Regions from separate parts of the Homo sapiens genome. Here region 1 is linked to region 2. The links are contacts of gene promoters, found by promoter capture Hi-C in blood cells and fetal thymus (Javierre and others, 2016). All regions are on one chromosome and are shown on one strand. Each heading gives the region's core, a stretch centred on a gene start or on the middle of the fragment in contact. The rest is flanking DNA. Distances are from core to core; before and after follow the strand shown.

Region 1 (7,348 bases), core at 2,295-4,794, 320 kb before region 2:
GTGTAGTGGTGGAGATAAGAAAACCCACGATTATAATACTGTTTGAGAGACTGGCGGTAAGGCGATGGAGTCTGGCTATCACAAAGATTTGAATACTGGCTCTTCTCTATAAGCAGCACCTTTAATTTTCTATGTACTCTTCCAAATATTTTCCCACCAATTTATAAACATATATACATATGTTTATTTAAAATTGATTTAAAAATTCAAAACAGGATTATAATTATGTAATTATAATGCTAATATATTTAGCATTATAAAAATGCTGATATATTATAATTTAATTATAATTTTATAATTAAAAACAGGATTCTATTTTTATCTAAAGCTCTATGTCTTAATAGTTTGACTTTCTCTCTTGTATATCTTTCTTATTTTATTAGTACCTATAGCTGTATCTCATTCTTTTAAAACTATAGCCTAATATTTCAAACGATGAATATACTCATTTTATTTAGACACTTCCCTGTTGACGGATTTGTTAGGTTGTCTCCAATGTTCCCCTATTATAAATAATGCTGAAATGGAATAATGCTATTTTTGTACATGTATGAATAATTTTGAAGGATGGACTCTTAGGGGTTGAGTTGCTGGCTCAAAGAATATGTTTATTTAAAATATTGATAGATATTTGACACTGTCTTCTTTTTTTTTAAATTTTATTATTATTATACTTTAAGTTTTAGGGTACATGTGCACAACGTGCAGGTTTGTTACATATGTATACATGTGCCATGTTGGTGTGCTGCACCCATTAACTCGTCATTTAGCATTAGGTATACCTCCTAATGCTATCCCTCCCGCCTCACCCTACCCCACAACAGTCCCCGGTGTGTGTTGTTCCCCTTCCTGTGTCCATATGTTCTCATTGTTCAATTCCCACCTATGAGTGAGAACATGTTTGGTTTTTTGTCCTTGCGATAGTTTGCTGAGAATGATGGTTTCCAGTTTCATCCATGTCCCTACAAAGGACATGAACTCATCATTTTTTATGGCTGCGTAGTATTCCATGGTGTATATGTGCCACATTTTCTTAATCCAGTCTATTGTTGTTGGACATTTAGGTTGGTTCCAAGTCTTTGCTGTCGTGAATAGTGCCGCTATAAACATACGTGTGCATGTGTCTTTATAGCAGCATGATTTATAATCCTTTGGGTATATACCCAGTAATGGGATGGCTGGGTCAAATGGTATTTCTAGTTCTAGATCCCCAAAGCAATGGCAACAAAAGCCAAAATTGACAAATGGGATCTAATTAAACTAAAGAGCTTCTGCACAGCAAAAGAAACTACCATCAGAGTGAACAGGCAACCTACAGAATGGGAGAAAATTTTTGCAACCTACTCATCTGACAAAGGGGTAATATCCAGGATCTACAATGAACTCAAACAAATTTACAAGAAAAAAACAAACAACCCCATCAAAAAGTGGTCGAAGGATATGAACAGACACTTCTCAAAAGAAGACATTTATGCAGCCAAAAAACACATGAAAAAATGCTCATCATCACTGGCCATCAGAGAAATGCAAATCAAAACCACAATGAGATACCATCTCACACCAGTTAGAATGGCAGTCATTAAAAAGTCAGGCAACAACAGACACTGTCTTCCTTGAAGTTGTTCCAGTTATATCTTAACCAATAGTGTGTGAAAGTGCCTGTTTCCCATATGCTGATCACCACTAGATACTGTCAATATTTTAAATTTTGGACAACTTGTTGGGCAAAAGATAATATTTTGTGGTTAATACTTTAATTTGCATTTCTCTGCTTACCGGTGATTTTGACAGGATTAGTAGTCTTTTGTATTTTCTCTCCTGTGAATCATTTATGTCCTTTGGCTTTTTTTGCTATTTAGAAAAAACTTTCTCTCTCTGACGTAGCTCCTTAAGTACTTTGATTGCTAACCTTTTGTTTGTTGCATATTGTTAGAAGAGGGAACAGCTTTCCTTCATTCCAAATGTTCCCATGTTGAGGAAACTTGAGGCACAACAGTTGAGGTCTCTCTTTACCTCTAGTTAAGAGTGACTTAAAATAATTGTGGAGTTTGGAAGAAAAGACGAGGCAGATGTGGCCAGCAGAGAGCCTTATTCTCTTCCTTCCTTTGGGACCCAGGCTGTCTGGGGGAGCACGTGTTCTGCTGTTTGCCTCCATGCTAGGAGCCTCCCGTGGGAGGAGGCCTATGGTGGCCCAGAACTATCTTTTGGTAACTGTGTTTAAAAGAAAGTTTCACTTCTATAGATATGACCCTCAATAAATATTTGGTGAATAAATGAACAGTGATCATTTTTCTAATTAAAAAGCTAAAAGAGAAACAAAGCTTCTGGAATCAGATGATGGAGAAACTTAAGCAAAAGAAAAGCAGGAGAGAACTACTGCAGAGATGAGACCTGCTCTTCCCCAAGGAACCCTGGAGAAAGTTGAAGCCAGGGATCAATAAGGCCAAGGTGAAACTGGCCCAGGGGATAATAATCATAAAGGTAAATAAGCAAATGACTTTTCCTGGAACAGCCATTTCTGTTCCATTCCATTCTGTCATTTGCTTATTTGCCAGTCTCCAGTCATTTGCCAGTCTCCCTCCCTCCCCTTTTTGTGTTTACAGAGTGACTGGTTGAAGGATGTGCCCTGGAGTGAGCAAATGGAGGAAGGAGTCGAGCAGGACCTGAGGTAACTCTGGGCCTTCAGATGGTCACAGAGGAAGAAAGGAAAAGAAAGGAGGAATGTTCTTTACAACGGGACACCGGATTGCCTATTGGCTCCACTTCCATACATTCACCATCCACCATCCAACCTTATTGGGAAACCTTTCTGTCAGCATCCTCATCGTATTCACCCCTTGCACCTTCCATGAGAGAAGATGAGAGAAAAAGGGAGAGAAAGAGAGAAAGAGAGAGACTCATCATGGAAACAGACATATAGAAACCTATGCCAGATGCCTATAGCATTGCAAAGTGCCAAGAGAGGAAGAACCAAAGGTACTGCATTTAAAACAAAGAATTACTAAATATTGAAGGAAAATGAATGATATTGAAAAAGAAGAACCTCCCTTGTAGCCTAGTGGTTAGGAAAAATAAAAATAAAAAAAGAAAAAGAAAAGAAGAACCAAGATGAATAAACACAATAACTGATCAACAATGAAACAAAACTTTTCATTTCAGATAAAATGCTAATTGCTTAAAAAAATTAAGTGGATATTAAATCAATAAAGCTAAGGTAGAGTTCCATGAAGAAAAGCCAATCACTAAAGAAGAAAGACTTATGATTTTAAAAGATGATTATAAGAAGAAAGCAATTAATAGAAGGGCTGAGTAACTGAAAGTATGTGGTCGCAGAATAAATTAGTGATTTAGAAATTAAGGTGTTTTTTTTTTTGTAATGTGAAGGCAGAAAGACAATAGAAATTATGGGACTGACATTAAAAGATATGGAGGATATGCCCAGGGGACCAAATACTCACTTAAGAGAAGTAAAAGAGAATAAAACAGATGGGAGAGACAGGGTCGAAGAAATAATAGAAGAAGTTTCCCTGATAGCAAGATATCCTCCAGACTTTAGATCTAAAGCATACACTAAGTGCTAGGTAGGACTACTGAAAGGCACCCACACCTAAATTCATGCGGGTGAAATTTCTGGATTTCAGAGGTTTAAAAAGGCTTACTAATTTTCAGAGAAAAAAGGTAACTTGCAAAGGAACGCAAATAAGATTAGCACCAGGCTTCTGGTCTGCTCCAGAAAATTAATGGACAATGGATCAGGGCCTGCCAAGTTAGAGCTAGAGTTACATAGCCAGTCAAATATGAGGCCAAAATAAAGAACTATGAAAATATATCACTCATGCTCCTTTTTGGAAAATCTAGTCTACAGACAATACAATTTCAAGGAAGGCGAATAGGATATACAAGAAAGAGTGGTAAACAGAGAAACTAACAGAATATATAGTTAAGTCTAACAAATTCTTGTTATTATCATTGTGTTTAATACCATTGCTAAGAAATCCTAAAATAGAAATACATCTATTATATAATAAAATAATTATATTATTTGTATAATTATATATATGATTATAAATAAAATAATATATAAAATAATACAGTTATATGTTATATTAATAACAAAAATTAACCATATCTGAAATAAAATTATAGATACTGTTAAAGTCTTACAAGATAGGGAAAGAGGGATAAATTATACATGATACAGGTCTCATTTTCTGAGGAAGGTAAAGTCTGGTTATTAGTTGCTGATACTGATACAAGCATTGATTTAAATAGGTTTGTTAGAAACTTAAAAATAATATAGAATGGGTATGGTATGTAGATGGTGGTGGTGATGATACTGGCCTACTCAGTATCCATACTTGCTTTCTTTCTAAGTAATAGAATTCTAATTTTAGTTATCGGGGTAATGTGTCTAGTTAAAAGATAACATTCCTAGCCACATTTGCGGTTAGTAGTGGCCACTTGATTGAATGTAAATGGAAATACTGTGTGAAATATGAGCAAAGATTTCTTAAAAGGAGCTGACTCAGCAGACACGTGTTTTTGTGCCCATTTCCCTTCTTTCTTCCCGCTGTTTGGAAATTGGACAGGTTGGCTGGAGCCACCACAACTGCCATATGGCCTTGAGACTAGAAGTTGTGTCCTTAGGTCCTTGAGAATGATAGGGCAGAAAGAAAAGAGGTGGCTGGATTCCTGAGGACAGCGGGGCCTCCTACCAGGAGTCCTAGGCTGCCTTTCTCTAGTCTTCTTTTACTTAGGGGCTGGGGAGAAGCTTATGTCTTTACGCTGCTTATTTTGGAGTTTCTATTCCATGCAGCTGAACTGAATTCTAACTGATTTATAAATCTTTTAACGTGGCAGAGTAGAAAAGAGCAACAACAACAAAGAACTTGATCAATCCAGCAAAGATTCAGAAGGAAAGAAAGAACAAGAAAAGAATAAATAAATGGCAGGGTTAGAAGGTGAACTGCAGTCATAGATTTCTTTTATAATAGACACACCAGAAATAAAGTGACACACAAATGTTGAATATAAAGAGATGGAGAGAGAAATGTTAGGTAAATGGAATAGCAACATTATCTGGCAAAATAGAACGCAAGGCCAAAATAATTAAAGAGAACATGAAGTGCTGTTTTAAATCGCATAGGTTTAAAAAAGGTAAAATTCACTGAGAAGATGTAATAGTTACAAACTTTTATGCATCACACTTGCATTGAAACAAAGCAAAAACTGTGATGACTATGAGGACTACCTGACAGAGCCACACTCTCTGTAGGAGACATCGATCTGTTAAGTCTCGGAAGGTGACAGTTTATGTGGACAGAATATAATTTTGTATACAGAACATTTGAATAACACAATTGACAAACTTGCTTGAATGTTATAGCCAATGAAAAGAATAAACATTTTTTCAATACCTGTGTGGTTTTACAAAATCGATTAAATACTAGGTATCAAAGAATACCTCAATCCATTCTCCAAAGAAGAAATTGTAAAGGCCACTTTTTCTTACCACCATATAATACAAGTTAGAAATTAAAAATGAAAGGCAAATCATAATAATTAAAAAAAGAGTCCCTGGGGAAAAACAACAATCTTTCTTAGGTTAAAAGGAAAACAGTTGTGGGGTGGGGGGAGGGGAAAGGGATAGCATTAGGAGATATACCTAATGCTAAATGACGAGTTAATGGGTGCAGCACACCAGCATGGCACATGTATACATACGTAACTAACCTGCACATTGTGCACATGTACCCTGAAACTTAAAGTATAATAATAATAATAAAAAAAAGAAAACAGAGCCTTAAGTGATGATTGTTTTGGAAATGGATATGTGAACGCTGCGCACCTTTACTTTGCAGCCAACTGTTCTTAGAGGATCCCTGGTGTTTAGTATTTTATGAGAAATGAACATGTAGCAAAAGTAAATTCAAGTTTAGAAACTAGAAAATGTCTAATCAAACAATGTGAAAAATAGAAGAGGGCATTAATAGATGTAAAAGCAGAAATTAACTAAATTAAATTATGCAATCCCAATAGGAAAACATGGTTCTCCCTGAGTCTCTTCTGAAGTGCAGTCCACTCATTCCCACAGCCATGCTTCTTAGGTTGGGCAGTGGAATTCACAGACATGTGGATCATCCTAGACTCCACTGCAGAGTCCATTGAGTCATATCACTAATACCTCCTCCTCGGAGGAGTCTTGGGTCATCTGTCTACCCCTCCTCATTGTTTCACCTGCTGGGCTCCCAGCGACTCCTTTCCTTCATGGAAGACTTACTCCTGAGTGGTGGTCTTCTTTTTTGTTTTAAGCTGCTGGACAACTTCATGGATCATGACCATGACTTACCCAGAAGTCTGGGTTCTAGGGAACCATGGAAGTTCGGGTGAAAGTAGAAATTGACCTTATCATAACTTTCACCCCAACTCCCATGGTCAATCTGTGGCCGTGGTCATTTCTTAGAGTTACTCCAATTCTGAAAACACCCACATCCTCACCACATATCACCTATCCTTCCAACTCTTTCATTCTGATACTTCTTCTATATTTATTTTTCAAACTTCAGTTCCCTGACCATTTTATTTTCTCTTTTTCTGTATGCCTACTCCAGTCTTCACGTTCTTTCCTTTCCAGGTTAAATTACATGGTCTTCCACTTAGAGAAGTTTTTTGCCAATCTGTGTCACTTCCTGACCTCATTTTTACAAAGTTTGGCAAATTCTGAGTCTTGATAAATCTAGCTCTCTACTCTCTCTGTCCTATTCCAGGGCTATTGAGCACTTGTAGGAAAAAAAGGATATAAAACCATAAAGATTATACATTATAAACTTCTGGTTTGTAACCTCAACTAGGATCCCACTACATCCTTCACACACACCTAGTGACTTCATCAGCTTCACAGAGAAAATACAAGTGTTTTGGTACAAATTCCCTTTATTTCCTACCAATATATTTGTAACCTTACATGTACTTGTGTCCACCTTTTCTTTCTTTTTTACAGTAACTATGTGAGAGTTTTTCTTTCTCTTGCCTAAAACTTAACCCTTCATCTAAGATCTGACTCCTGTCTCCTCCTGCCTTCTCAGGAATATTGCTCTGTTGATTATCGCTACTCTTCCTTGCACTTTAATTTCTCCTGGACCTTTAAAAAATATCAGTTAAACAAGGCTTTTGAGGTCTTTCATGATCTGGCCTCTTCCTACCATCTCTTCCACATTTCACCTCTTAGTTTATGTCCTAGCTATGCATTTTTCTTTGAGTTCCTTGAGCACACGTTGTTTGCACTTATCTCTGGGATTTTGCACCTGCTGATCCTTCTTTCTGAAACATTATCTTCCCTTTCTCCTCC
Region 2 (7,267 bases), core at 3,699-6,198:
TCTGTTTTCCCAGGGAAGCAGGTGGGGATTCACTACACATTGACACGGGCAAGTCAAAGGTAGGTAGTCATAATAACTGAAATGTATAGAGTACTGCATATTTATCCATAAAACTTTCCTGTAAACTGCTTAACTTAATCCTGACAACCACTTTAGAGCTGATTATGGTTACCTGACCCTCACAGAGATACGTTATTTGTCCAAGGCCACATCCCTGTAGTGCTGAGATTTAAACTCAAGTTGGTCTGACTCCATGTTATATAGTTTTTCCACTGACATTAGAATAAGAAAATGGCCCAATGTCACCATCCAATGTAATTTGGGATTAAAAAAAAAGGAGAAGTTATTTTAGTAAATTCTCCATTTTGCATCTATGTAAGCTCTCCATCTTATAGTCTAGTAGAGAAGAAGCACCATAAACACAATGTAATTTATATTTGGTTCTGTGACAGTCTTAGTGCAGGAAGTGTTGCTTTGTTTGTGTTATTAGAATAATTTCCTTTCTGACTCCAGCTAGGTGATTATGAAGCAGTTTAGCCTTCCTCAGGCTTACAGAGTGGTTTTTTTGGCAAGGGCCCACCTAACTTCTAGTTGGGAGGAGAGAATCTGCCTGGAATTCCGCATTACTTTCAGGTTGTTGTGGCATTCAGAATATTTCATAACGGTTTGGGGCACCACAGAGCAATGAGAGCTGATACCATCACCGCCCTGTGGTGGGGCCCCGCCCGGTACATGGCTGATGTGGCCTTGAATTTCTGGGGCCTGTCTGGGGAGTCTTGAGGAAAGAGCTGGGATAGCTGGGCTGGTCATGGGCACTCAGAGGGCTTGGGAAAGTGGATAATTATCATTAGTAGACATATTTTAATATTTTAGCAACTATTAGCCTACCAGTTTGCACCTGACAAATATCAGCTCTGCTTACAGATACTTCACCATGGGGCAATTTTCAAGGGGCTCAGTAAGGATGACCAATGCTTCTTTTTCTTTAAAGTTCAGAGTGTTATTTAGAAATTAAAGAAAAGGAAAACTGTAGAAAGAGTTTGGGCCTTGGAATCAGAGTAAGCCTAATTTGGAATCATAGTTCTGTCTGCTTTCTGCATATTTGTCCTTGGTAACACTATCTTTTCTTCTATACCTAAGTTTCTTCTTTTTCTTTTTCTTTTGTCTTGCTGTGTTACTCAGGCTGGTCTTGAACACCTGGCCTCAAGCAATCCTCCCACCTTGGCCTCCCAAAGTGCTGGGATTATAGGTGTGAGCCACCACACCTAGTCTATACCTAATTTTCTTCATAAAATAGATACTGTGCCAAACTAGTTGGGTGATTGGCAGTTGTAATCAGGTAACACATATTAAGTCCCTGATGTATAAAGGTGGTGCTTAATAAGTGATAGATATGATTATGATTATGAATCTCCCCTCAGTCTAAGATGTTCACTAAAGTTGAAACATCTTGAGGAATAAGGAAGGAAAGAAGGAAGGAAGAAGGTGAGAATTGCAGGGTACAGTTGACAGTATAAAATCAAGATGGTGAAAAAGATTTTTTAAATCTGTGTTAAGCAGAGATAAAAAGTAAGCAATGAAAAGTCTTTCTTTCCTGGGGCCTGTCCTAGGGTGGGGGGAGGGGGGAGAGATAGCATTAGGAGATGTACCTAATGTAACTGACGAGTTAACGGGTGCAGCACACCAACATGGCACATGTATACATATGTAACAAACCTGCACATTGTGCACGTGTACCCTAGAACTTAAAGTATAATATATTAAAAAAAAAAAGTCTTTCTTTCTTACCTAATTCCCAAAGGGACCAGAGAGATTACCTAATCCTGTTCACTCATTTTGTAGTTGAGGAAACTGAAGAGAGAGAGAAAGGAGGGAGAAAGAGAGAGAGAGAGGGAGGGAGAAGCAGGCTTGCCTGGAGTCACAAAGAATATTAGTGGTTTTAAATGGGAACCAAACTCACAAGTTCTGAGTTCCAGATGCATGCTTTCTTCCTTTATATCATACAGCCTTCCTCCTGCCACACTTGGTTTCCAAGGCCCAGTCCCAGGTTTGCCTTTAGTGCTCTAGGGGACATGTATGAGACAGACCTCTCTTCTCTTCTGTCTGTTTTGTACCTATGCCCCAAGCAGTGCCTGTGAGTTGAGACTGAGAGTGAGAACCAGTGTGGGAGGAGAGAAGAAGGAAATGGGGTTTCCATGATGTGGCCCATAAGACCTTCTGCATCCACAGCCAAGATATACATCATTACCATCGCAGAGCTGCGGGAAATCCCAGAGTAGCTAACATTTCTCTGTTCATGAACTGGACAAACTCCACCTCAACCCAGGTGGATTGTCCCCCATTTGACATACCCCAATCTGCAACAAATTCTCACATTCCTTCATAGAACTGTCTTCTAGCTCCTAACCCTCTTCCATGTCACTCAGGTTGGAAGATCATCAGAACAAGAATTTCCCTGAGTATAATATTTGAGCATTCTGAGACTTCTATTGTCTAAGGAGCAGTTCAATCTGTTCGGGGAAAAGGAGAGATGTTACTTGGTAAATAACAGAAAGAAAAAATGCCCATTAGTCAATAGAACTCCTATTCCCCTCCCTTTTCATACTCTTTCTCCCACAAATAAGCGTAGCTGAATAAATACTGAAAGAAGACCATCTAAGACCTTTTTCCTCTCCTTCCCTTTCTTCCTTACTTCCACTTTTAGGATATGAATTTTAAGAAAGGCTTGTATAATTGCTACAGGAAATATTAAAGTTGTGGATTTGGAAAAAAAATTAATCGCTTGTTCTCAATGTAGGGAGACATCAAATATCTTCATTTGAATGGGCAATAAAGACATCAAGAATAAGAAACAGCAGTTTATCTGAGCTGATTTATAGATGGCTTCATCAAGAGAAAGTAGGGAGAATGAGCAGATTTCTCAACCATTGTGTTAGCTCTGTGAATTCGTATCTTTAATTCTTCAGTTTCATTTCCTTGGTAATAAGCTCTGTCCTGCATATATTCATTTTTCTTCTTTCCTGCTTTTCTTTTTCAATATCTACACACTCTCTTCTCCTCGTCCCTCTACTTATTTGACTGAACTCTTTTCTCAATCTGAAATCTGTGTTTAGGCCATTCTGCATCAGGCCTGGGTGTTGTAAGGCACACAGTACTGTGGGTACTGGAATATCCACTTTGGTCTTGTGCCTTAGGTGGAAAAGAGAACAGTTGTCAGTTTGCAGGTGGAAATAAACGTGTGATCTTTTCCCCTTACTGTAGCCCAGAAGGAATCTTGTAAGTCACAGCATTGGCTGAGACGAGACCTCCATACTAGAATCCAAATCAAACATTGAACTGAAAATGACGGTTGGGGCTTCATGTTCACTACATAATGCTGAATCGCAGGGTTCCATCTTAATTTTCAAAAAACCCAAGAGTTATGAGAACATGTTGGTAGCGTGGTTGTAAATGGTTTCTAAACACCCTGGGGTGCATGCGAATAACTCAGATGTTAAATTGCTTTCTATCCCTTCTGCTATATCTTCAGCTTGTTATTTCTGATAATAGTCCAAGTAGAGACAGACAATAAACCTGACTTCCCTTCTTCCTACTAACACTTCATGCTGCAAGACAATATTGTGAGATCTTTATCTCTAATCACTCAGCTGAACAACTATTGAGTCTGATACTTGGACACACAAGTTGAAGGTTCCTACCTCCAACCTCCCATCCTAGGTACTGCCCTGCACCATCTAGAAAGTCTCCTTACCTCTCTACTCAGGACCATTTGTGGTATACAGAGTCACTAGTACTTCCCTGGATATCTCCTGTAAATGCTCACAGTCTTGTCAAATCACTTCTGTGGAACTCTCCTTTCTTGTCCTTGCCCTGCCCTGGGGACCCACCCTTTTTCTTCCACCCACTGGTGAGCTTAGTGGCACAGAAGGGGCATGGGAAAACCCCAGGGTGGAGGATCTTTCCACTCCTCCATCTACCCCAAAACTCATGTAGGTGGTGATATGCTCTGCCTGCTACCACTGGGGCAAGGGGTGTTGGAGGAGCATGAAGCCCCCAATATTATGTAGGTCACTGAGAAGGCAACACATCCATCTATCTATCTTTGAGATGTGAACCCTGAAATCTGGTCCTGATGGTGGCTATCCATCTATCTTGAGCCTCCCGGTGAATTTGACCTTACCTCACTCAAGTGTGTACATCCTCCCTCGTAGCTGACCTCAATATATCTTGCTGCAGTTTATCTCAACAAGTTTCTTCTACAGCTTCTGAAGAAAGAGGTCATACCCACAGAAAGCAAAGTTGATTTCAGCCAGGTACTCTCAATGGTTGGAGCTATGGACACTAGAGTAGGGCCTGAAATGAAACCGGGAAACTTCTTCCTTGAGAACTTTTCGATGTTATAATCAGATGGAAATTGCAGCAACAATGAGTTCAGCAAGACACAGAGAAGAACTTTGCAGGTGAGAAAGGTGAAAAAAAATTCCTAAAATGTTATTCAAGTCATCAAAGAGACCCAAGTTTTGAGAATCTAGAAAGATTACCTCTCTGATAATAAAGAGAAAACAAACAAACGAAAGCAAAAGGGCACCCAGCATCGTTCTCCTAGGCATAATGATGGATGCTTTTAAGGTTGAAGTAAGAGTGGTGGGAGATTTTCTCTTGATTTTCCCTTGACTTGACAGCCTGATTTTTCTCTGACATGTTTCCTTCTTTCTCCTAGCATCACCCTAAATCAGTACAGCCTTGAAACTGAGATAAAGGCTGTGCTTACCTGTCTGCTGGTAGAAAGCTGAGTTTGAGGCAAAGCAGTTGTCGAAGCTGGGCCGAGGCCTTCACAGGTGTGGGCACAGAGGTGAAGCAAGTGAGAAAGTATCATGTTGTAGATTATGCCTTTCTCCCTGAACTCATTCAACTGCTGTTGCCTGCTCAAAAGGGGAAGCGGAAATGAGAACACACCACACACACACACATCCACACATGTAGATGCAGTCCCCGCCTCCTGGCCCAGCCACATCCTTTGCTCCGGCTCAGGAGACTGAGCGAAGGACAAACCATCCGTAGACACGGTGCTCACAACTAGGAAGACCTTCCTGCCCCAGAGCTGCCTCTGTCTTTCCAGAAAAACAGGAGATCTTTTCCTATTAAGGCAAAGGTACAGTCCATTTAAAGAGGTGTGTGCAGGAGTCTTCCTACCATATAACTAGAATTCCACTGCTGCAGATAAATCCTTCTGTCCTCAGGAGAGCTGTCTGAAAATGGGAAAGCTCTCTCTCATAAATGATCTGGCGTTTATCTCAGAGAAGAAGTTTCCAGTCGTATCACACACTTGAGAGGGCTCTGAGCCAGTCGCTCTGTGTTGATAACTTTCATACTCTGGTAAATTCCCCCGAAGCTTGTTTTTGAATACTGACTACTTTTTTTTTCTGTTAGTTTCTTAACTTTGTTTTATGTTCAAACCACTTCAAAGTTTTTGTTTTTGTAGTAAATGACTGCTTTCCCCAACGTTTTCAAAGCTGAACTTTTAAAATCGGTTACACCCTGAAGATGTCTTCAGTTTATTGGTTTTCAGTTTGGAAAAGGCTTGTTGAACTCTAAAAGGTTTCTCCCAGGCCTCAATCACTTTCACCCACCGGGAGCATCCAGCACTGCTAACTATCCCTCCTCGCTTCTCCAGTATCTCTGAACACTCTTCTCCGTAGGATGCTGCTGCATTTTGGATATCTTCTTTCTGTCTCTCTCCTGATTCTACTGTTTCCTTCTTTAAATCATTTATTTATGAATGTATATCACAATATTTATTCTACAAGGCACTCCTCTAATGTGTTAATTGTGACTGATTTTCACATGTTCATTACCTTCTTTCTGATTTTTTGGCTATAGGTATAGTTAGATTTTTTTTTTACCATGTTTCTAAATTCCATTTCCAATCATCAATGGGACAACTCCATTGAGTATCCATAGTATAGCTATAATATGGTAGAAATAATCCTAAATAAAATTCTTGCTTGGCAAATTAAGTTCTCAAAACATTATTTTCTTCAAGTATAATGTGAGGAAAATAACAATTCTCTCTGTTTCTCACTCAACCCTTCTCCCACGCTATTCCTTTTACGTAGGCATGAAAATATCTAACATATTTTCTCAGGACATAGTAGATGCTAAATATGTGCTTCTCTGAGAATTAGCTTCACAGTCAACAAGTAAAATGCTAAATCCAACACGCCCTAATTCTCTTTATTTACTATTCTTTTCCGTACAAATTAACTATAAAAGCTGAACTAATGGAAACTTAACAACTCTTTTAAATCCTAAGTTTCTAGAATTCAATGTTTTCCTTAACAGTTGTTTTCCAATATGTTTGGGAAATGGAGAATATAACTTCGGTAGGGAGTTTGGAAATATGTGAGAGAGATTTAATTTTCAAAGAAATGGGAAGCTGATACTGGTATTTAGTACCTGAGGGCCAATGATGATAAGTGCTTTTGAAGGGATGGGACTCTTCAGTATAAGGAATAATTGTCCTGGCCCAAATGTCAACATTTTGTTAACATTGATAGTTTGATGGTTAGGAGAGCAGGCTTTAGAGTGAAGCTCTGGCATCAAGTAGCTCTGTAGTCTTGGATACGTTAACATCTCTAGGTCTCAGTTTGTTAGCTGCTAAATGGGGATAACCTTACAGGAGTGGTTGTAGAGCTATAAGAATAAAGGAATACAGAGTATTCAGTCCAGCGCCTACCTTACAGCAAATGCTCAAGAAATTGCAGCTATTTTTAAGACTCTTGAAATATAATAGTTTCTTTTAACTTTTATTTTAAGTTCAGTGGTACATGTGCAAGTTTGTTACATAGGTAAACTCCTGTCATAGGGGTTTGTTGTACAGATTATTTCATCACCCAGGTATTAAGCCTAGTACCCAATAGGTATTTGTTTTGATCCTCTCCCTCCTTCCACCCTCTACCCTCCCATAGGCCCCAGTGTGTGTTGTTTCCCTCTATGTGTCCATGTGTTCTCATCATTTAGCTCCCACTTATAGGTGAGAACATGCGGTATTTGGTTTTCTGTTCCTGTGTTAGTTTGCTAAGGATAATGGCCTCCAGCTCCATCCATGTTGCTGCAAAGGACATGATCTCATTCTTTTTTATGGCTGCATAGTATTCCATGGTGTATATGTGCCACATTTTCTTTATCCAGTCTATCATCACTGGGCATTTGGGTTGATTCCATGTCTTTGCTATTGTGAATAGTGTTGCAGCAAACATACATGTGC

What was found. Contacts are between HindIII fragments. The CHiCAGO score rates a contact against its expected background, and 5 or more counts as called.
Region 1: a fragment that was not itself captured here is called in contact with the fragment with the promoter of TESPA1 in region 2 in 1 of 17 cell types (M0 macrophages); the score reaches 5.4 in M0 macrophages.

Annotation. Positions count from the first base shown.
Region 1 is chr12:54,663,620-54,670,967 of GRCh38, forward strand. No RefSeq gene overlaps it. Among named protein-coding and RNA genes, the nearest start is that of DCD, 19 kb to the left of the region's middle. The HindIII fragment of the contact is 2,450 bases long and covers 2,320-4,769 here.
Region 2 is chr12:54,979,814-54,987,080 of GRCh38, forward strand. It overlaps TESPA1 (thymocyte expressed, positive selection associated 1), which reads right to left and starts at 4,949. Exons shown (of 11, transcript NM_001136030.3): 1 at 4,772-4,949. LOC107984515 (a long non-coding RNA gene) reads left to right here and starts at 5,038. Exons shown (of 2, transcript XR_001749161.2): 1 at 5,038-5,152. The HindIII fragment of the contact is 6,023 bases long and covers 1-5,390 here.